Linked DNA regions of Homo sapiens: regions 2, 3, 4, 5, 6 and 7 are each linked to region 1. The links are contacts of gene promoters, found by promoter capture Hi-C in blood cells and fetal thymus (Javierre and others, 2016). All regions are on one chromosome and are shown on one strand. The core of a region is centred on a gene start or on the middle of the fragment in contact, and the rest is flanking DNA. Distances in the headings are between cores, read along the strand shown.

Region 1 (2,796 bases), core at 256-2,755:
CCTTGCATGGAGGTGGTGGCATGGAGAGTGCATGAAACTGGGAGAAGTGGTGGTCTTGATCTGCATCTGGGCAGAAAACGATGACTCCCTGCCAGGGCCCAGTGCCATCAGATACTATCTTCAAGGCCTCAAAGGCAGCCTTCTCCCATTGACACTTATCGCAGCTTCCTTACCCTCAAGATACTGGATTAGCTCACACTCAGGGCTGAATCAGGCCTAGCCTTGGAAAGGGAGGAGTGCAGAGGTGGATCTAGGGTTCTTGCAGATAATGGCCCAGAAACTACCAACATCAGCTTACTTGTAAGACTGAATTCTTCTGTGGCAGAACTGTGGATTACAATAGTGAAGCTCCGCAGCACCTGCCACATGGCAGGTGTTCAGAAATGCCATGAATCAGCTTACTAAACTTTCCATTCTACGTGGGAAATTAGCACTCAGGGAGCAAACCAGGACACGCGCGCGCGCACACACACACACACACACACACGATGAAACCAAACCGCCATTGTGCAATGCACACCCTTTGTCCAAAGGTAGATGGGTACAATTCACTCTGATCTGCATTTTTAAACATTCAAGTCAACCGAGAGCTCTAGTGAAAATGCACCCAATTCTGTACAAGTGGGGTCATCAACAGCGGCTTCTCCAGCCTGGTCTGGTAAAAAAGCAAACCACAGGCACACACATCATGATGAAACCAAACCTACGCTGTGCAATGCGCAGTTTGTCGAAAGGCAGATGGGTAAAATTCACTCTGATCTGCATTTTTTAATATTTAAGTCAACCAAGAATCCTAGTGAAAATGTGCCTAAATCTGTCCAAGCGGGGTCAAGAGCGGCCTCCCCTGCCTGTTCTGGTAAAAAGGCTTGCGTGTCCCTACCTCACCAGCAGCCGCACAGCAGCTGGGCTTTTCCAAGCTTGCCCACACCCCTGTTCTCCGCCCTGCAAAAGCTGCACCTGCCACAGCATTTAACACCTGGTCACACCTGAGGTTGGTACCAGGGCTTCTCAAAAGGCAGGGAAGGGAAGACGTTCCGCGAACGGGGTGCAAGAGAAAGCGCGAGGGGCAATAAAGCAGTGTGGCCAGATGCAGACTGAAGTGGGTGATAGGGCAAGAGGAGAGCTTGATAGGTAGTGAGGCACTCACCAGGCGGACTGCGGGTTCCCACTCCCTGGGAGCTCCCCGGAAGCTCCAAGAACCGCCTGGGTCCCCAGGCCCGAACACAGTCAGCACTTGCTCCCAGCCCCCACGCTCGCACTCACCAAGAAGCCCACCAAGTAGAGACAGAGCAGGAAGCGGCGGGCTCCGACGGCACCGGAGTCGGCAGCCTCCGCCTCGGTTCCTGTCTTCTGCTCCTGTTTCCGCTCTGCGGTCTCCGAGACCAGCCTCGGGGCCGAGTTCATGTCCCAGTGACCCCCAAGCTCCATACCCGCGCCGGCCGGGGGTCGGACGCAGCAGCAGCCGCGGACCTACCCCGGGAGCCCAGCCCCGCCCCGAGCGGAAGCAGGAGGCGCGCGCCTGCGCAGAGAGAGGGGGCGGGTGCTACCTGGCAGCTCCGCGGGTGCGTGGCCGGTGCTGGCTGGGAGTTCTGGTCTCAGGCAAGGTGGGGACTGGGCACATCATCAATACGGTAAGCACACACCAGTTTGTGATGATAATGATGATGCTCTTTGTTTCCTCTGGGTACAGACCCTGCTGCCCCTATCGTTGGAGGACAGGAGGGAATTGTATTGAGCTTCACTTCCTCCTATGGAGTTGTGCTAGGAGGTGACCAACTCCAGCTTGAAGATCCACAGACCCTGGCCACCAGTTGGTTGTGACAGACCTAGGATACGTTAACGTGGCTCTCCAAGCTTTCGTTTGCCTATTTAAAAAGCAGTAGGAAATAATGTAGTCCAACTTCTAGAGGTGTGAGAATTCTACACATGCTTCTTAAGATCCTTTCTGGTGCAGTGCAATGTGAACAAACCATAGATGGTCTATGCCTGAGTTGAGATTACAGTCTCATGGAGTAAAAATAATAAGCACGCAGTAAATAAACATAAATAAAAATACTAAACATGCAATGAAAAAGCATAAAATAAGTAAAATAATATGGTGATAATATAAAGAAGCACGGTCTTGATGTGGAAAGTAATGAGGTGGGGAGTGAGCTACTTTAGAAAAGCAGTTTGGAGGAGGTGACATGTAAGCTGAGAAGAGTGGAAAGAAGATATGTGTGGCTGAAACTTCCTCATCAAACTGAGAGGTCAGCAGGAGTGCAGACCATTTAGGACCCAGAAGGCCATAACAGAGATTTGGGGTTTATTCTGAGTGCAGTGAAAGGAATTAAGTGAGTGCATGACACCAAAAGATGCCTTTAAATTACTTAGCAAAGCCCATGACACATGGTAAGTAATAAATGTTAACAATAGTGACTAGCCCCTCTTTTCTTTAGAACTTGTTATTTATTCCTCTTTCACTGTGGGATCAAGAAGACTCTGACATTTTACTGAGATTTTGCTCAAAATCTCAATTTACTTGTGTAGGTTGCTAATTCTGAGATCTGTTAAATTCAGTGTTGCAAAGTTTCTCATGGGAGGTGGCACTGAATAGGGAGAAGTGGAATACTGATACTTAGAATTAAGACATATAATTGAATCCAGGTGAAACTGTCAATCGTGAACCCCCAAGTTATTCTGAGACTCCTTTGCAGGAGAACTAGTTTGCTCTCCTATAGCTGAGGAAACTAGTCTTTTTGTGCTTGAAATTTTGTGAGTAACTCATCTGGGAAAGGCGCCTTGAAAGGGCTGCTC
Region 2 (2,718 bases), core at 84-2,583, 2.1 Mb after region 1:
CCCAGTGAGCAGTGAATAAATATGAAAAGTGCAGAATACACCTGAGGTATGTCTGGAGCTTTGTAAGGTCCTAACACTAGACATGATTACATAGGACAAAAAGAATGATCACTGCTGCCCATGTTTCTTTATTGTAGCTACAAAATAATGGAATGGACATTGAGATGGAAGCAAAAACTTTTTAAATTTTTTTTCTTTTAAAGAAAAGGGACAAGAGGTGTTCTGATGAGCTTCCTGGGAGACCACACATTAGCTCTGTCCTGCAGGACTGCCTCTCCGCATAAGGCAAGCCCATTAAGTCGGCTGGAACATTGCACACTGAAATAGAATAGATGTTCATTTCAAAGAATTTTCCTTGAGCCAGCAATAAAATAAAAGGTGACAAAACCCACCACGCTCATTGTACCCAGGTTTAGACAGGGAAACTTCCAGGTGTGAGGGGGGCTAGCCAGATTTGTTCCTTTCTGCCCCTATCAAGGTCTCAGAAGGAGGGTGAGTCTGTGTTTCACTTACATTTCCAAGGTTGAAAACTCTCCTGCAGAGTTAAAAATAAATTAAATAGGTCTAATCAGAAAGCACAGTATCACCCAGAAACTAACCAAATGAAATGTCTTAGTAGCTTGGTCTTGAGAATCTTTAGGTGACAATGGTGAAAAAGCCATCACAGAACAAAACAACATCTACAAACTATTTTAAATTACCATTTCATGGGGAGAAATCTTTCAAATTTCAAAATCGCTCAGGCAAGTCTACTGATTCTACTTTGTACGCCTTAAAGACTTATGCCAAGCACAGCTTTAAAAACGTTTCACTCCTGAAAGAAGGTCTTTAACTCTTCCAATAACTATTTAATAGTTGTCCTGAATGTTTTTAACAAGAGACGGGTATTAAGTGAGTGGCCTTGAGTCCCAAGCAGTCTGGGGGAATAGAAGTGGTGGACACTCAAAGGCACGGAGCAGCCTGCACCTGAAACGGGCTTTCTGCTTTTCGGTGAGGAGGGGCGGCCGAGGTCAGCAGTATTTACATATGTACCTGATCCCACGGGCTTTCCTCTATTTATCAAAGAGGAGGGCCTGCAGGTGAAGGGGTGGAAGTGAGGGGAGAGAAAGACCAAAAGAGAGATCAGTTACCTTTCCCCTTTGTTCCTGGGCCTTGAACTGGGGCTTCAAGGAGGGGAATAAAAGCCCCCAGGGAATGAAGCTTCCACCTCCATTTGCATCATCCTGACACCCCCGCCAGAAAACCAAGTGCTGGCTGAGTTGGGGCAAAATGGTAACTTGAGGAATCCCAGTGTGAGTGTGTTACATAACATACAGAATCCTCTGTGGGGAGAAGTGCACTCACTTGATTTTCTCCAAATGACTGTGTGCAGGCGGAAAGCCCTAGAAAGGAGGATTGAAGACCAGTTAAATAGGAAGACTGTGGGGAAATGGGGAAACGTGTAGCCATATATGACAGGGCACATGTAAGCTTGTGTGCAGGTAAAGTCATACCTGCACCATCTGTGTGCCAGAGCATCCTTCAGAGATCCTGCCTAGAGCTGCACGTTGGCTAAGCAGGAGTCCATACTTTACAATGGTGGTATGGTGGGGGCAGTGGTACCCAAGACTACTGGGACCTGGCTGCCCTGTGGGGTAGTAGGAGCCAGGTTAGTTCACAACTGTGTCATCCTCAACCAGCTCTTTTTTGTCAGAACCCTCAAATCCTTAGCCTGGGTGGGCAGATTACCCCCTCCTCTGTGCGCCCTGCTGTGCCCACCGCAGTCGCCCTGCGGTGGCAGGAGAGCTACTCATTCAGCAGTAGCAGCATTGCGCCGCTGCAGCATCCCGAGGTCACATTCAGAAAGCCCGTTCTTCCAGGACAGCATCGCCCCAATACTGCAGGCGGGGCGAACCGTGTTTATCTGCCCCAGGCACGGAGGGGAGATTGTAACCAAAGGAAAAGAATCTCGCAGAAGGGGATCTGGAAGAGGGCAGTTGATCCTGGGCAGATCCCCTGCGCCGGGCCCTCTCCGCTGGGGGCGAGCCCGGAGGGAACCGAGGGGCCCGGGAGGGGGAGCTGCTGAAGGCGCGCAGGCTGACAAAGCTATAACAAAGGCTCCCTACAAAACTAGTACTAAGGATCTTTAAAGGATCACACACCTTGCAGGCGTGTCCCCAGCTCCCGGGACGCAGAGCCCGCTGACTGTTCCCCCGGGCTCCGCAGACGTGCCCGGGTTGTCAGAGGTGTGGGGCTGGAAGTCCAGCGTCTCGGCCTCTGCCCCTGCGCTCCCACAGGCCTGAGCGGGTAGGGGTAGGTGCCCGCGCCTGGGCCCGCGGGGCTTTGGTCATGGCTGTTCCCCGGGAGGCTCAGTTAGGCAGCAGCCTTGCTGGGCAACAGGCCCCGCCCTTGGTTAATCCGGGAAGGTCGCGGGCTGCAATCTGGCCTGACGAGGCAGGCCCTGAAGTCTCCCCGCTGGGCGATCAGAAGAGCGTTCGAGAAGCCGGGAGCTGGTGGGGTTGGCAGGGCGTCTGAGTCACCCGAGCTGCAGAACGGACGCCCCCACGACGCGCTGTGGGCACTCACAGCGGCTAGTTGGGCATTTCCCAGCAGCCAAGGCTGCGCACTCCGCCCCCGCTGAGGTCCCCTTTGGTTCCCGAGGACCCAGCTCCTCCCGCCCCTCTACTCGGCGCCCCCTGCCACCATAGAACTCTGGGGTAACCCTGGGCCCCGACCTCC
Region 3 (2,843 bases), core at 303-2,802, 2.3 Mb after region 1:
GTAGCATAAATACAGTTTAATACCGTTTATATCTTTAAAAGAACCACACAAACAACCCTATTTCATGCAGGCATACATAGGTAAATGCACAGAGAGTCCAGAACAATAAACTCCCGCCTTGTTCTGGCAACGGAATTTTAACATGTGATCTGGGAAGTATGTGTTACTTGTGTAAAATTATGTTTTTATTATAGATAACTGAATAGGGGAGGGCAGTATCAAGAGAAACAGAAACTAAAATACACAAATAAGACTTGCAAAATATATGAGATTTATATAGAAAATTATGATAACTCAGTTAAAGATCAGAAGTGAAAATCTGAACAGTTGGAAAAATTCCATGGTTCTCTAAGGGAAGACAATATTCCAGAGTTGCTGCTTTCTAAATTATTGATAAATTGAATATAACTTTACTTAAAGTTTTGGCACAACTTTTGGGAGAAACTTGTCAAGTCTAGTTGTGCAAGAAGCAGTGGGAAAAAAAATTGTTTTAAGTAATGAAGTAAGCTCATCATACCTGGTATCAAAACCCAGCAAAAAGCTCTGCTAATTAAAATGGTGGTTACTGACGCAGAGTAGACAGACCAATGAGCAAAGTCCTGGCAGCACGTGTTTGTGCCTTATTCAGTTAATTCTAAGACTTTTTTTTTTTTTTTTTTCAAATTTTAATGTCTGACAGCAGGGAACACTTCACAATTTTTGTAAACTATGATACATATCATGGTTTGACAGTATTTTTTCTCTTTCTTTGTGATATATAAAATACATGATGAGGCATCTTAAAATCTGTGATACCTTAGGTTCGGTGAAGTCAAGTGTGTGTGTGTGTGTGTGTGTGTGTATACATTCACATATGTAATGAAATCAATCCCATGATATGAGACTCAACTCAAGCATCTCTCCAAGCTTACCAGTAGAGTCTTGTCTGCAGCCATGATGTTTGTCATTTTTTATCACTTTCTGACGGACTAACCATACAGTGAAAATCAATTGCATAAGAAAAGAAAAATATTAGAAAATATGCCGGATTTGATTCATGAAGTCTATGACAATGATTTTGGAAAAGTGCTGAAATCAACCATAAGCCATTAGCAAATAAGAATTTGGTTTTTCAAGCTAAATACCCAAGCAAGACTTTCTTTTTAGCATTTATTATGAAAATGTGGTCTTTGTTTCAGAAGAAAGACATCCTACATATAATACAGGTGGTATTTCAATAGAAAAGCATGTACTATTCAAAAAACTGTAGAGAGATAATGACTCTTTACTGAACAAAATAGTTCTTGGATTTCTGCCTCACAAACATAAATTCCAGATAGATTAAATATTTGAACATGAAAATAAAATAAAAATTCCAGAAGAAATACAAGAAAATAGTTTTAGAGAGCCCAAAGCCTTAAAGCATGTTTCCTCAGTGGGGGCAAAGACTGGTTCACGGGGGTGGGGAAACCTAACTGTTACAATGGTTTGTGGCCCTCCAGTGGGCCACAGTATACTTCAGCAGATGTGTAGTGTATCTGTGGTATTAACATTTCATGCGGGGGCGGAAATTAGGGAGAAAATGCCTATAAAGGATTCCTTCATGGGATGAATCATGAAAAAACAAGTCATGCTGCCGTAGAGGAAAAGCGACAGATTTGACTATTTACATATTTTAAACTTCTCGATTATGAAAGGTAACATAAGTAAAAGTAAAAGGCAAGTGACAGCCTGGGGGAAAATAGTTTACAACTTCTGTAATGGACCAGGAAGTATAATCTGCTTCAGAGAAACAACAGAGATAGTATGCGCAAAGGACACAGAGTTAGCATACAACAGAGATAGTATGCGCAAAGGACACAGAGTTAGCATTCGTCTTGTTTCTTAGACTAACACCACTTCTCAGTTTGCTTGGTGGTGGTTAGTTAGATATGAATGCCCATCTGTATTTCAGAAGGAATTACACCCAACACCTTTTTGAGGCTTTTCTGTTGTTGATGTTTTAAACTCTCGGAGGTTGATGACCACTGGGTTGAAACAAATGATGTAGCATAGAAAAATACATTCTTTAGTTTTCATTTGTTTACCTGTTTTAGATTCTCTGAATGCACTGCATTTTTTTACTTTATCAGTTTTCCCTTTTAAAAATATGGGAGGGAGTTATGTTTATGGCCAAACCTAAATTTTTTTATTCTAACAAGATGATTTGGGCTATTTTATAAGCTTTTATTTGAAACAATACAGAAATTCTCATAGTGAAATATTTAGTAATTTTTAAATTAAATGTAAACATTGTTTTATGTTAATGGTATGAAATATTTAATATCCTAAATATTTGCATATAAATATGCTAAACTAAATATTAAAATTCTAAATGTTGGTGATTTTTTTGTATTTTTTATTACTCAATTATAAATGTGTCTCATAACTGTGGTTAAATGCAGCTATTTGGTCTGTCTCTGTGTATATTTTTATTTGCTTTCATCTGGCTTTTTTAAATCAGCAATCCAGTGGGGAGAAGATGGCCGTCCATTTCACTATCTCTTCTATACTGGCAAACAGTCATACTATTCATTAATGCATGTAAGTATATTGCATTTATGATAAATAATATGAGCTGTAAGCTACAAAACTAATTATACTGGATACTGTTCGCAGCTTCAGAATTTACCTAGTATTTTATAATTGACAAAAATAAGACTTCTAGAGGTAGGACAGTGTGTTGATGAAATGATTTATAGTAATTCATTTTTGCTAAAGGTGAACTTTATAGAGTTTATATCAGAATGGTTTGTCTTTAAAATGCTTTTACTTAGAAATTGAAATCATGTTCCAAGATAGATGTTCAACTCAATTATAGTGTG
Region 4 (2,802 bases), core at 291-2,790, 2.2 Mb after region 1:
ATATAGAGAGAGATATCTCTCTCTCTCTATATATATACAGAGAGGATATATATATATAAAGTCAATAAGAGTATAATCAATAGGATATATATATATATATATATATATATATATATATAGAGAGAGAGAGAGAGAGAGAGAGAGAGAGAGATTTATTGTAAAAGTTTGGATCATGCTATTATGGGGGTTGAGAAGTCCCACGATCTGCCATTTGCAAATTAGAGAACCAGGAAAGCTGGTGGTGCAGTTCCAATTTAAGCCCAAGTCCTGAGAAGCAGGAGAGTCAGTGGTGTAAGCCCCAGTCTGAATCTGAAGGCCCCCAAACCAGGATCTCTTGTTTCTGAGGACAGAAGAAGCTGGATGTCTCACCTCAAAAAAAGAGTGATTTGGAATGTGTTTTTGTTTTGTTCAGGCTCTGAATGGGTTGGATGATGCCCATCCACATTGGTGAGAACAAATCTTTGTTGCTCCGTCTGTGGATTCAAATGCTAATCTCTTCTGGAAACACCCTCACTGGTACACCCCCAAATGATATACTACCAGCTATCTGGCTATTCCTTAGCCCAGTCAAGTGGACACATAAAATTAACCATCATGCTGGTCTTTCCAATCCTATTCCTATCCCCTTTCAATCTATTCTCCAAAAAGCAGGCAGAGTTAGTCTTTAGGAACTCAAATGGGGCCATGCCCTTTCCTTATCGAAAAGCTTTCAGAAGTTTCCATTTCACTTACAGTAAAATAAAAAATTGGTTAGCAAAAATTACAAGGCCCTCTGTGATCTCATCTCTGGGTAGCCCAATAGGTTCAGTTGGTGCCATCCTCCTTGTTCACTCTGCTCTCGCTGGTGCCTGCTGCTCTTTCTTGTTGCCTCTCTCTGAAATGTTCTCTTCCCCATGTCTTGCATATACAACTCCTGCTCATTCTTCATCCCTGGGCTCAGGAGTGAAAGAAAGAAAAGAAAGAAAAGAAAGAAAAGAAAGAAAGAAAGAAAGAAAGAAAGAAAGAAAGAAAGAAAGAAAGAAAGAAAGAAAGAAAGAAAGAAAGAAAGAAAGAAAGAAAGGAAGGAAGGAAGGAAGGAAGGAAGGAAGGAAAGAAAGAAAGAAAAGAAAGAAAAGAAAGAAAGAAAGAAAAACACACATAGCAGGTCCCTTCCTTTGCCTAATGGCCTAATGTTCCCTACCAATGAAGAACGGAGACCAAATCGTCTGAGCATGGAGCCAGTCTGAGATAGAAGTTAGAAGCTCTAAGAGCCTCTCCCATTATGGTCTTTTCTTCATCCATGACCTAAACTCCAAGGAAATCCTTCTAGAAATAACTTCTGAGCACCCACAATGATGTGTATAAATCATGACACCAGAACTTGCGGGAGATACCCAGAGAGCACGGCTTCTCCATCAGGGAGGCTACATTCCAGGCAGCAAGGAGCTGAGTGTACACAAATGAGTCTGATGTGAGGCAGGAAATGTTAGGTGACGTACGTGAAAAACCAGCAAAACAGGACAGGGTTCAGAGCAGGAGAGAGTGCTTCTCTTGAGACCAGTCAGGAAAGCTGTCTGAATTAAGGGATTGTGTTTTAACTGGACCTCGGAAAACAGTAAAGAGCCGGACATGTGATAGAAATGTCTACCAGAGGGCTTCCAAGTGGAGGAACCAGCAGAGCAGAGGCTTGGCACCACAACGCTGTGTGTTAGTGCAAGAAGGAATATTAGGAAACCTACTAAAAGTCCACTGGAAATCTTTGCTTGGTGAGGACAAACAAATATATTTCAAGGAATGCTTTGTTTATTGTGTCCTGCTAATCTTGTCGGAACCATTTCATTCCACGTGAAGAGGTGAATCCACATTTGGGAATGTGGATTCCCAAAGAGCTCAGGGAGATACCTGAGCTCCTGGGCTCAAGAGTCACTTCCTCAGAAGATCCCTGCCTTGCTCTCCCCTTCCCTTTTCCCCAGCCTAGAGAAGGTCCTCACATTGTTCATTTCTTTTCAGATCCTAATCATAACTTAAAATCCAAGTGTGCTTATTTAGTTAATATCCTGCTCCCCTCTAGAAAGTAAGCCCCAGGAAAGTAGGAATATTGGATTTTTCTTTTTGTAACTAGCTGTTGTATTCCTTGTGCCTAACACAGGGCCTGACAAATAATACATACTCAATAAAGGTCTGCTGAATGAATTAGCGGTGCAATAAAATGTTATTAGACATAACTATCCTCAAAAGCCATTGCCATCCCCTGACATTTTTGTTAGCCAATTTTGACCCTTTGGGCCCAATTTGTTGCCATCTTTCAAGCCACTTTCCCTCTCGGGTGCCCTTTTCTCTCTCACTACCTGCTGGCTGCTGACATCCAAAGTCACTAGTTCATCCTCTGCCTCAGATAAGCTTTGCACCGCAGTGGACCCTAAACTAAGCACCAGGCCTGCCTTTCCACACTCTGAAATTCACTGCGGTGATCTGTCAGACTAAGGACTCATTCATCTGGTCTCTACCTTTAACACCATGGGAGGACCTATGTTTGGGCCCAGGTTCCTCCAACACTAGTTTCTATAAGTAAAGAGAATATTGTTTGATTAACGTTCTTTTCCTTTTCCAACCTCCTGAACAATTTTAGAGCCATTAAAATTTTACTTCCCAGCACATATGTGGTCTATGTGTAGTGTGGTCATAGGACAGGGATTTTGTCCCAGAATTGAGAAAAGCTTAGCCACTTTAAGGGGGAGTCATCCAAGTGCCAGATACAATTTTGGCTAACCAGGCATGCCCTGCCCTTGCTGTATGGAGCATGCGTTCCAGCGGATGATGGAA
Region 5 (2,700 bases), core at 135-2,634, 2.4 Mb after region 1:
CCAACATGGTGAAACCCCATCTCTACCAAAAAATACAAAAATTAGCCGGGTGTGGTGGCATGCGCCAATAGTGCCAGCTACTCGGGAGGCTGAGGTGGGAGAATCGCTGGAACCCAGGAGGCAGAGGCTGCAGTAAGTCGAGATTGTGCCACTGCACTCCAGCCTGGGTAACAGTCAGATCCTGTCTCAAAAAAAAAAAAAAAAAATCCATTTCAATGCAGTTATTTTAAGTAAAAATATTGCTTCAAGAATTAGACCCTCAATGCTCAATTATCCTTTATATAAAGAGTTGTATGCCACTGATTTCTTCATAAGTGTCTTTTTAAAATAATCTTGAATAAGTTCTGAGACATGTATATACACATCAAATCCTTTATGAGGTAAAATAAAATAACATGGTGATGAACAAGTGAGAGTGAGTACCCAGTACCCTGCGGTACCCAGTGCCCTTTTCATTTCAGATGAAACTGTAGAAAATACTTTCTGGGGTTTTTTCTGTGTGGCGGTCATTCTCTAGTGAAATTGTCTGTGGCAGGTTTTGGTCGGTGGTGTTGATTTAGCCTGTATCTGTTGGAGTATACTTTTTACCATTTTGACAAGAGAGAAGTGACAAGTGGTTACCCCACGTGGCGTGGGTGTGCTGAGATGGGATGGCGGGCAGCCCTGCCGGCACGGATCGCCCGCTTGCTGAGCTCTTGCCATACCTGGTGTCCTGGGGCAGTGCAGAGCTGCCTGAAGTATATGCCATCTGGCCCTGCATCAGCTACTGTTGGTATCGTGGAGGAGACAAAGTCCTCAAGTCTAACGGGAGACCTGGAGTGCTGCTCGTACAGTGCCAGGAGGAGAGCTGAGGAAGGGGGCCCTGAGGACAGTAGCACTCTGAGGAGGAGGTGGTGGGGAAAAAAGAGGCCATGAAAGGAGAGGGTGGGAGTACAGATGGAGAAAATGGCGAGAAAGGAGGAAGGAAAGTTCAGGAAATGTGCAGGGAGTGAAGCCAGGCGGGCCAGGGCATTGCTGGGGAGGGACGAGGTCCCTGCGGAAACCAGCTGGGAAGGAGGCTGAGGTGGATTTGTGGAGGGTCTGAAATTCATGGTGATGTTCCTGCACTGCCAAAGGGGAATCAGCCTTTTTTTCTCCTTTGAGAGAACAGATGAGGGTTGAAATTAGAACTGTGTTTTTAAACTATATTTTAGCAACCTTTAAAATATATGTATATATATATTAAGTAGAGTCATAGTGCATAATATAACAACAAAATCGGAGCCTTAACTCTCACCTTCTTCTGGGCCTCAGGAACCCCGAGCTCATGGGAAAAGTCTTGAGGATCTCCCCATCAGGAAGGTCACGGAGGGACTGCAGGAGCAGGGAGTTGCTAGAAGGAAGAGACCTGCCAGGCAGCTATTGTACATGGAGGGGATGGGACCCAGTGCAGGGAACAGAAAGGAAGTAGGTGTGAGAAACGTTGCCACTCTCACCTGGACCAAGTGCGATAGCTGATTGGCTGCAGGAGAGCTGGGGGCGGGTATTCGGTATGAGATCCACAGGCTGCTGGGAATGCAAAGAGCCAGGAAGACAGGAAGAAAAGTTGATGGGAGGAGGAGGAGACACCAGAGGGGTCGGCTCGGGTTTCAGGTGTTCGGGGCCACCTCATATGAGATGCTTGAAATAATTGGACTGTGACTCAGGCGACGGGTCAGCCTGCTGACAGATTTGGGAGGCTGCTGCGTGGAAGGGGAATTTGAAACGTGGGCTGGATCAGCACGGAGGATTGGGCAGGGAGAAGGCCAAGGCTCAAGTGGAGAAACAGCCATCAAGTTTAAAGTAGGAAGGAGGGAAGAGCCAGCAAAGGGGGTGGTGAGCGGTGATAGGAAGACAGCAAGCCAGGCACAGCGGTCAGGGACGTCAGTGATGACCAAGAAGCGGCCTCCAGGAGAGGCGAATGTTACAGGTGCCTTTCCCCGTGAGGTCTGGAAGAAATACTGGCTTGTAACCTCGCAGGCCACTGTACCCCTTGAGTCTCAATTTCTTTGAGTCAAATTGGGGTCATTTTCTGCCCTACCAGCCCCATCTGCCCTTGTGTGACGATCAAGTAAGATAAGTGTAAAACCACCGGCCATCTGCTCCATTCCAGCTGTAATAGGAACTAGACTGTGGACAGTGTTGATGTGAGGCCTCCAGGGAAGAGGATTAAAGTATATCGGAGCTCTTGTTCCTTTGTTCAGGCTTGACACAGTCTCCTTTGTCACCAGGTTTGTTAACCACAGGAGCACTGAGCTTCTCAGACATCCCACACCTTTGTGGGAAATACCTGTTGGGAAGTATTTTTGACACACACTGTGTGCATACATTGGGAAGAGCTCTCTAGTGGCTATTTTTTTTTAATAGGCATTTGACAAGATTATTGCCTTAAGGCGACAGTGAGAGCTAATGCTTCTGTAGCTCCTATTCTGTTCCAGATACTGTTCTAAATACAAGTAACGCATTCGATCCTCTCAGCCAACCCTATGAGGTAGATATTGAGAAAATTAGTGCTCAGAGAGGTTCAATAACTTGCCCAAAGTCCTAGAGCTAGTGAGTGCCCAAGCCAGGTTGGAACCTAGAATCCCGGCTCCAGAGCCAGTGCTCTGAACCACTGTGGAAGAATACCAGGCGGGCTATGACGGCATGCAAGCCAGGCACACAGCCTGTGCTAAAACCGTC
Region 6 (2,733 bases), core at 118-2,617, 2.3 Mb after region 1:
CTTACAGTGCTTTAGTATTTTCCTTTTTAGTATGTTTGTTAGCCCCTGACTGTGGCTTGTAGAGCACAACTGTCCCTGTGGTGAATGGCTCAGCTATGCTGTATTACTGATTCTTGTCATCTCCCTTGCTGTCAGGATGTCTTATGTCTACGTGTCTGCCTCTAGCCACCCTCACCTGTCTTCCAACCTTCTGGCATAACTAAACTCGTTAAGTGTGTGAATTAAAACTAAAAGCCATTGGACTCTGAATGAGGCCCTACGTGCCCCTCCTAGTAAGTAAAATTCATGAATTTATGTCAGCTATTGCAGTTCTTTATAGGTCTTTTTCATTGATTTCCAGTTTTACAACTTTACTTCAGAGGGTTAAGTTTGAATAGAAATCTGGCCTTGCTGAATACAGCATATATAATTTATGTGTGAAAATTACACCTAGCTAATGTAATATACTAGTGCTTCCTTAATAAGGTTTATTAAAGAGTACAATGTGAGTTGGTAAAAAGGAATAAGATGGATAAAATTTTTTAATAAAAATAATTCTGCTTGTCACTAGTGGTACTTATTTTAAAGTTTTATCACTTAGAAGATTTATCATTATTAAGGCTACAGGATTCTATATATTTCAGAATTTTTTTTTCCAGAATTAGCTCAAATTGGTGCTCGACCTTTTTATTAAGTTTACAAGAAAAATATTATCTTATTGGTGAAAAAGTAAAGTATTATAACTAAAAAGGAATTAGTAATTGGCAGGTATAGAATCTCTTCATTTCAAAGTAGTTTGATTTTTGCCCAGTTTCTTAAATTATATTGAAACAAAATAAACTACCTATTGTTCTTACCCACTGAACCATGATGGTGCTACTGATAACCTTTAGAAGATCTAACAGGAGGAAAAACGGGTAGCCTCTAACAAAATTAGTAGTGTATATGGTGTTATGCTGAAAGTACTTTAAATGCAGGCTAAATATTTAGCAAATAGACCTTAATGCTGTTATCCTCAACTCCTGTTTCATCAGTCTTTCACAGGTTACTGCCAAATGTTGATCAGTGTGTAAAAATTTTTTTTTGGCTGTTAACAGTATACATAACTGTTAGGAGGAATCTGTCAGTTGGAACCTTGAGCTGAGTGAGTCTTGTTGTTTAGTGTAAAGAAAATTTGGTGTGTATGGAAACTGAAGAACTAAGCCCATGAGTGTGTAACAGAGGCAGCAGAAACAGTTTTCCTTATTGACCCCAAGACTAAAGAACAGCTAGGTGAGGAGTGCAGCAAGTGCCAATGGAACTTTATAGACCTTGTAACATCTCCTTGTGCTAGAGCAGACGTGGGGTAACAATGATTGCTAACCTGTTTAGTGAAGTTTCTTAATCCTGTCATGTGTACCATCAAAAATTCTTTTACTCAAAATCATACTGTAAACACCAAAAAGTTGAGGACCACTGATATTTGCATTTTCCTTTTCCATTGAAGCATGTAGTTGTTATAAAGTTTAGTTGGGAGACCTTTCTGTTATATTGAATATTATGAATACAGACTTGCACTTGCGTTTACTAATGTCTTTATTTGGGAATTAAAAGTTAAGTTCTACATTACTATAGAATTTCAGGAAAAAAGCCAGCAAATTGATATATAGCACTCCTGAAGTCTACCAATTACTTTTTAATTGGTATTATAGACCTCATTCTGAAACCAGAATGTTTTATTCTCCTAAGTGTGAATATGCTGTATGAAGTTTCTCTAATTGATTTGCTGTGCCCATTCCATTTGATGTATCATTTTTCACAATATTTCATAATTTGTGCTCACTTCTAATGAACAGAGTCGTTAGGACAGGCATGTCTAAGTACAACTGACAGCTAACATTAGGTGCCAGATGCAGTTTATAGAGCTATGTAGAACTGTAGAGAACAGTTTAAATAAATTAGCACCTGTACATTAGTCTCACTTGCTGGTAATTTATAAGCGAATCAGTAGAGATGACATTTAGGTAAGTCATTGATCAAGTTAACAGCTGCAAACCCACTGCCCAGCTGGGATGCCTAATTAATAGAGATTGCATTCCTGACCCAGTGCTTCTGGGTTGAGTCTGCAATTCTTTCATACTTTGATTTAAGTCTAAGAACATACTCAAATACTTTGCCTTCATTTTAGGGAACTGTTGAATATCAGTATTCTAGTTAAAACCTAAAAATGGAAGAAACATGTTTACTAATGAGGATTACCTTACTCCATTTCTTATTTGGATTAAATTTTTAAAATTTGCATTCTTACTTTTTCTTTCTTTTCTCTCAGCACTTTTTGTTTTGGATTCACATTAAGTATAGATGACATGCTGTAGTTTAATGAGTTTCTTTTTTTTTTTTTTCGAGACAGAGTCTCTCTCTGTTGCCCAGGCAACAGATCGTGCAGTGGCACGATCTTGGCTCACTGCAACCTCCGCCTCCCAGGTTCAAGCAATTCTCCTGCCTCAGCCTCCTGAGTAGCTGGGATTACAGGTGCCCACCACCATGCTCAGCTAATTTTTGTATTTTTAGTAGAGACAGGGTTTCACCATGTTGGTCAGGCTGGTCTCGAACCCCTGACCTTGTGATCCACCCACCTCGGCCTCCCAAAGTGCTGGGATTACAGGCGTGAGCCACTGCGCCCGGCAGTTTAATGAGTTTCTAAAGAGTTCTGTACTTACTAAATATATGCTCCATTTTTTCTTTTGGAAAAAGCATGGTTTTTTGCTTTTGTTC
Region 7 (2,700 bases), core at 143-2,642, 2.1 Mb after region 1:
GAAAGCTCACCAGAACACAGGCACATGTTCCAGAGACCTTGCCAAGTCTTTTCCATTCTCCCAGGCTCCGCATCCTTATTTTCAAAGTGGAGACAATATGAATACCTGCTCAGTCTAGTGTGTCTGGTGATGACAAAGGGGACGGATTGGTTCGTGAAAGCACTTCATGAGGTCCAGGCAGTGGGAGGGCATCTCAAGCTGCTTCCCTCTAGCTGCAGGCACGTGGCTAAACACCAGACCCCATTCTCCCCACTGTAGCTTGGTCTTGCAGTGAAAACAAATCTAAATGGAAGTGACTTTTTATATAATAGAAATTGAAACCAAAGTTTAAAAATAAAATAAAATGGAATGTTTCTGAGCATGCAACATCCATCTACTGTATTTGTTTTTTGCTCATTCAGCACATTTGTATTAGGCGCTGAGTGGAGGCAGAGGCACTCCATCACTGGATTTCTGAGCACACTACTTAGCCTTTGCACTTGGGAGAAAGTCCAACTCCTGAACAGGAAGCCATCCTCTCACACCGCACCCTAACCCAGCAGCCCAGCTCATGGCTCTGCAGATGAACAGGACACGCATCCCGCTATTCACTGTCAGCCTCTCTGCTTCATCCTCGACTTGCCTGAAATGTCCTGTGCTCAGAAAGACCTGTCAGAGAGCACCTCCGGTCCAAAGCGGTCCTAGCCCTGATCTTCACCCTCATGCCTAGTGGGTTTCCTGCGGAGCCATCATTGCCACGCGTGGCGATACTCTGTTGGTCTGGGATCTCCTGTACCATCTGTCTCCCCAGCTTGACTGTGACCTTCAGAAGAGCAGAGGTCACCTCAGCCTTGTTTCTGCACTTCAAGCCCCGGCACAGTGCCTGGCCCATGAAGGACACAGGAAACAGGGTTTTGCCTCAAAGCAGCTCACCTAATATAAAGCAACACAAAACCCCACGCAGTCAGGGCTTTGTTTCACCTGCTGCAATGGCAGCCCTTGAACTGAAGGAGAAGAAAAGTTTTTCTCTCCTCTACCAAGCTCAAATTCTTTTTTTTTTTTTTTTTTAAGACAGAGTCTCACTCTGTCACCCAGACTGGAGTGCAGTGGCGCGATCTTGGCTCATTGCAACCTCTGCCTCCTGGGTTCAAATGATTCTCCTGCCTCAGCCTCCAAAGGAGCTGGGATTACAGGCACAAACCGCCAAGCTCAGCTGATTTTTGTATTTTTAGTAGAGGTAGGGTTTCGCCATGTTGGCCAGGCTGGTCTCAAACTCCTGACCTCAGGTGATCCATCGGCCTCAGCCTCCCAAAGTGCTGGGATTACAGGCGTGAGCCACTGCGCCTGGTCCCAAGCTCAAATTATTTCCCCTGCAATTAATCTGTGCCTCCTCCCTGCGAGGTGGCCACCCTCACCTGATCTGGCAGGAAGACCTGTGTTTGCTCCCAGCCCACAGAAATGTCCCACCCGTTGGTCAGGGTCCTTCCTGTCAAGGAGGTACGGCTTCCCCTTGTCACCTAAGTGTCCCCTTATCTAAATGTAAGATGGTGATAAGCCTGGTGCCATGAGAGGTGACTGTCAGGTGGTCCCCCTAGGACTCCCCTGCCAGAGTTAGCCTGAGCTCCAGTGACGGCCCAGAAATTTAGCTCCCATTACCTCATGAATTCCCCACCCTGTGTGCTGCAGAGTGGATGATGGCAAGCAACACTCACAGCATAGTTTATATTCGTTTAATTTTTCTTTATTTTCAAACTAGAGAATATGTACTTACTGTAACAAGCAAAACAATACTTAAAAAGGTGAATAAAAGCAAATATAATTATTTCTTCCTATCCCACTTCATTACCACTATCTCAAGAACACCAAGGGCATGCATGCATATGCCTATATCCATGTATAATATATAAAGAATAAGCCAGGCACGGTGGCTCATGCCTGCAATCCCAGCACTTTGGGAGGCCAAGGCGGGCGGATCACCTGAAGTCAGGAGTTTGAGACCATCCTGGCCAACATGGTGAAACCCTGTCTCTACTAAAAATATAAAAATTAGCCGGGCGTGGTGGTGCACGTGCCTGTAATCCCAGCTACTCCGGAGGCTGAGAAGGAAAATCGCTTGAATCTGGGAGGCAGAGGTTGCAGTGAGTTGAGATCATGCCCTTGCACTCCAGCCTGGGTGACAGAGCGAGACTCCACCTCAAAAAAAATTAAAAAGTAAAATAAAATATATCTCTAATATATAGCATATATATTATATATACTACACATACCTTATATATCATTTTACATAAGTGGGATCATATACATGCTGGGGGAATTTTAGTGCCGTATTTTGTCTTTATGTAATTATCTATTTTGCATGCCTTTTGCAGGTGTGGTTCCTCCAGGGACTCATTGGAAAGCGCGGACGTCCTGTGGCCATGGGATCACACCTGTCTTCAGTGGCACTGTTTCCCTGTTTGTTCTTGAACACGCCTGCTGCCTTGGTTACACTGGCCTACTGGTGAGTCTTCAGAGAAGTGGCACTGCTGTTTTTTTCTTTTCTCCGTTGGTGGTTTTGGGACATCTGAGATGTCGCCTACTCCCACTCAGTCTCTTTTATTTTCTGCAGTTCCTCTGGCCTGTCTTGTTCCCTGCTCTTTCTAATTGGCTCTCATTTCCAGCTGCCAGCCCCTGCATTGCTTCTGACCTTGTCTATTTCCAGAGACCTTCCCAAAGTCACAA

The links. Contacts are between HindIII fragments. The CHiCAGO score rates a contact against its expected background, and 5 or more counts as called.
Region 2: a fragment that was not itself captured here is called in contact with the fragment with the promoter of SLC67A2 in region 1 in 5 of 17 cell types (total B cells, M0 macrophages, M1 macrophages and 2 more); the score reaches 13.6 in total B cells.
Region 3: a fragment that was not itself captured here is called in contact with the fragment with the promoter of SLC67A2 in region 1 in 1 of 17 cell types (M2 macrophages); the score reaches 8.6 in M2 macrophages.
Region 4: a fragment that was not itself captured here is called in contact with the fragment with the promoter of SLC67A2 in region 1 in 1 of 17 cell types (total B cells); the score reaches 5.4 in total B cells.
Region 5: a contact is called between the fragment with the promoter of MRPS9-AS1 here and the fragment with the promoter of SLC67A2 in region 1, in 1 of 17 cell types (M2 macrophages). The highest score is 6.5, in M2 macrophages.
Region 6: a contact is called between a fragment that was not itself captured here and the fragment with the promoter of SLC67A2 in region 1, in 1 of 17 cell types (M2 macrophages). The highest score is 8.6, in M2 macrophages.
Region 7: a fragment that was not itself captured here is called in contact with the fragment with the promoter of SLC67A2 in region 1 in 2 of 17 cell types (M0 macrophages and M2 macrophages); the score reaches 7.1 in M0 macrophages.

Annotation. Positions count from the first base shown.
Region 1 is chr2:102,735,383-102,738,178 of GRCh38, forward strand. SLC67A2 (solute carrier family 67 member 2) reads right to left here and starts at 1,506. Exons shown (of 6, transcript NM_032718.5): 1 at 1,264-1,506. The coding sequence starts at 1,428. It also overlaps a transcript of TMEM182 not described here. RefSeq lists a silencer at 1,413-1,622. The HindIII fragment of the contact is 937 bases long and covers 916-1,852 here.
Region 2 is chr2:104,865,298-104,868,015 of GRCh38, forward strand. It overlaps LOC124908045, which reads right to left and starts at 1,904. Exons shown (of 2, transcript XM_047446880.1): 1 at 1,131-1,904; 2 at 1-318. LINC01159 (long intergenic non-protein coding RNA 1159) reads right to left here. Exons shown (of 2, transcript NR_110373.1): 2 at 200-2,718. It also overlaps a transcript of POU3F3 not described here. RefSeq lists a silencer at 2,254-2,548. The HindIII fragment of the contact is 270 bases long and covers 1,199-1,468 here.
Region 3 is chr2:105,077,501-105,080,343 of GRCh38, forward strand. MRPS9 (mitochondrial ribosomal protein S9) reads left to right here. Exons shown (of 11, transcript NM_182640.3): 5 at 2,483-2,562. Among named protein-coding and RNA genes, the nearest start is that of MRPS9-AS1, 24 kb to the right of the region's middle. The HindIII fragment of the contact is 1,296 bases long and covers 905-2,200 here.
Region 4 is chr2:104,978,552-104,981,353 of GRCh38, forward strand. All of the region lies in intron 1 of MRPS9-AS2 (MRPS9 antisense RNA 2), which reads right to left. Among named protein-coding and RNA genes, the nearest start is that of MRPS9, 58 kb to the right of the region's middle. The HindIII fragment of the contact is 1,673 bases long and covers 705-2,377 here.
Region 5 is chr2:105,101,560-105,104,259 of GRCh38, forward strand. It overlaps MRPS9-AS1 (MRPS9 antisense RNA 1), which reads right to left and starts at 1,385. Exons shown (of 4, transcript NR_110227.1): 1 at 1,277-1,385. It overlaps LOC105373527 (a long non-coding RNA gene), which reads left to right and starts at 198. Exons shown (of 3, transcript XR_923138.3): 1 at 198-2,700. RefSeq lists an enhancer at 1,941-2,700. The HindIII fragment of the contact is 13,539 bases long and covers 1-2,700 here.
Region 6 is chr2:105,056,333-105,059,065 of GRCh38, forward strand. The region is part of intron 2 of MRPS9 (mitochondrial ribosomal protein S9); the gene reads left to right. Among named protein-coding and RNA genes, the nearest start is that of MRPS9-AS2, 19 kb to the left of the region's middle. The HindIII fragment of the contact is 3,624 bases long and covers 1-2,733 here.
Region 7 is chr2:104,815,942-104,818,641 of GRCh38, forward strand. The region is part of intron 1 of PANTR1 (POU3F3 adjacent non-coding transcript 1); the gene reads right to left. Among named protein-coding and RNA genes, the nearest start is that of PANTR1, 34 kb to the right of the region's middle. The HindIII fragment of the contact is 9,510 bases long and covers 1-2,700 here.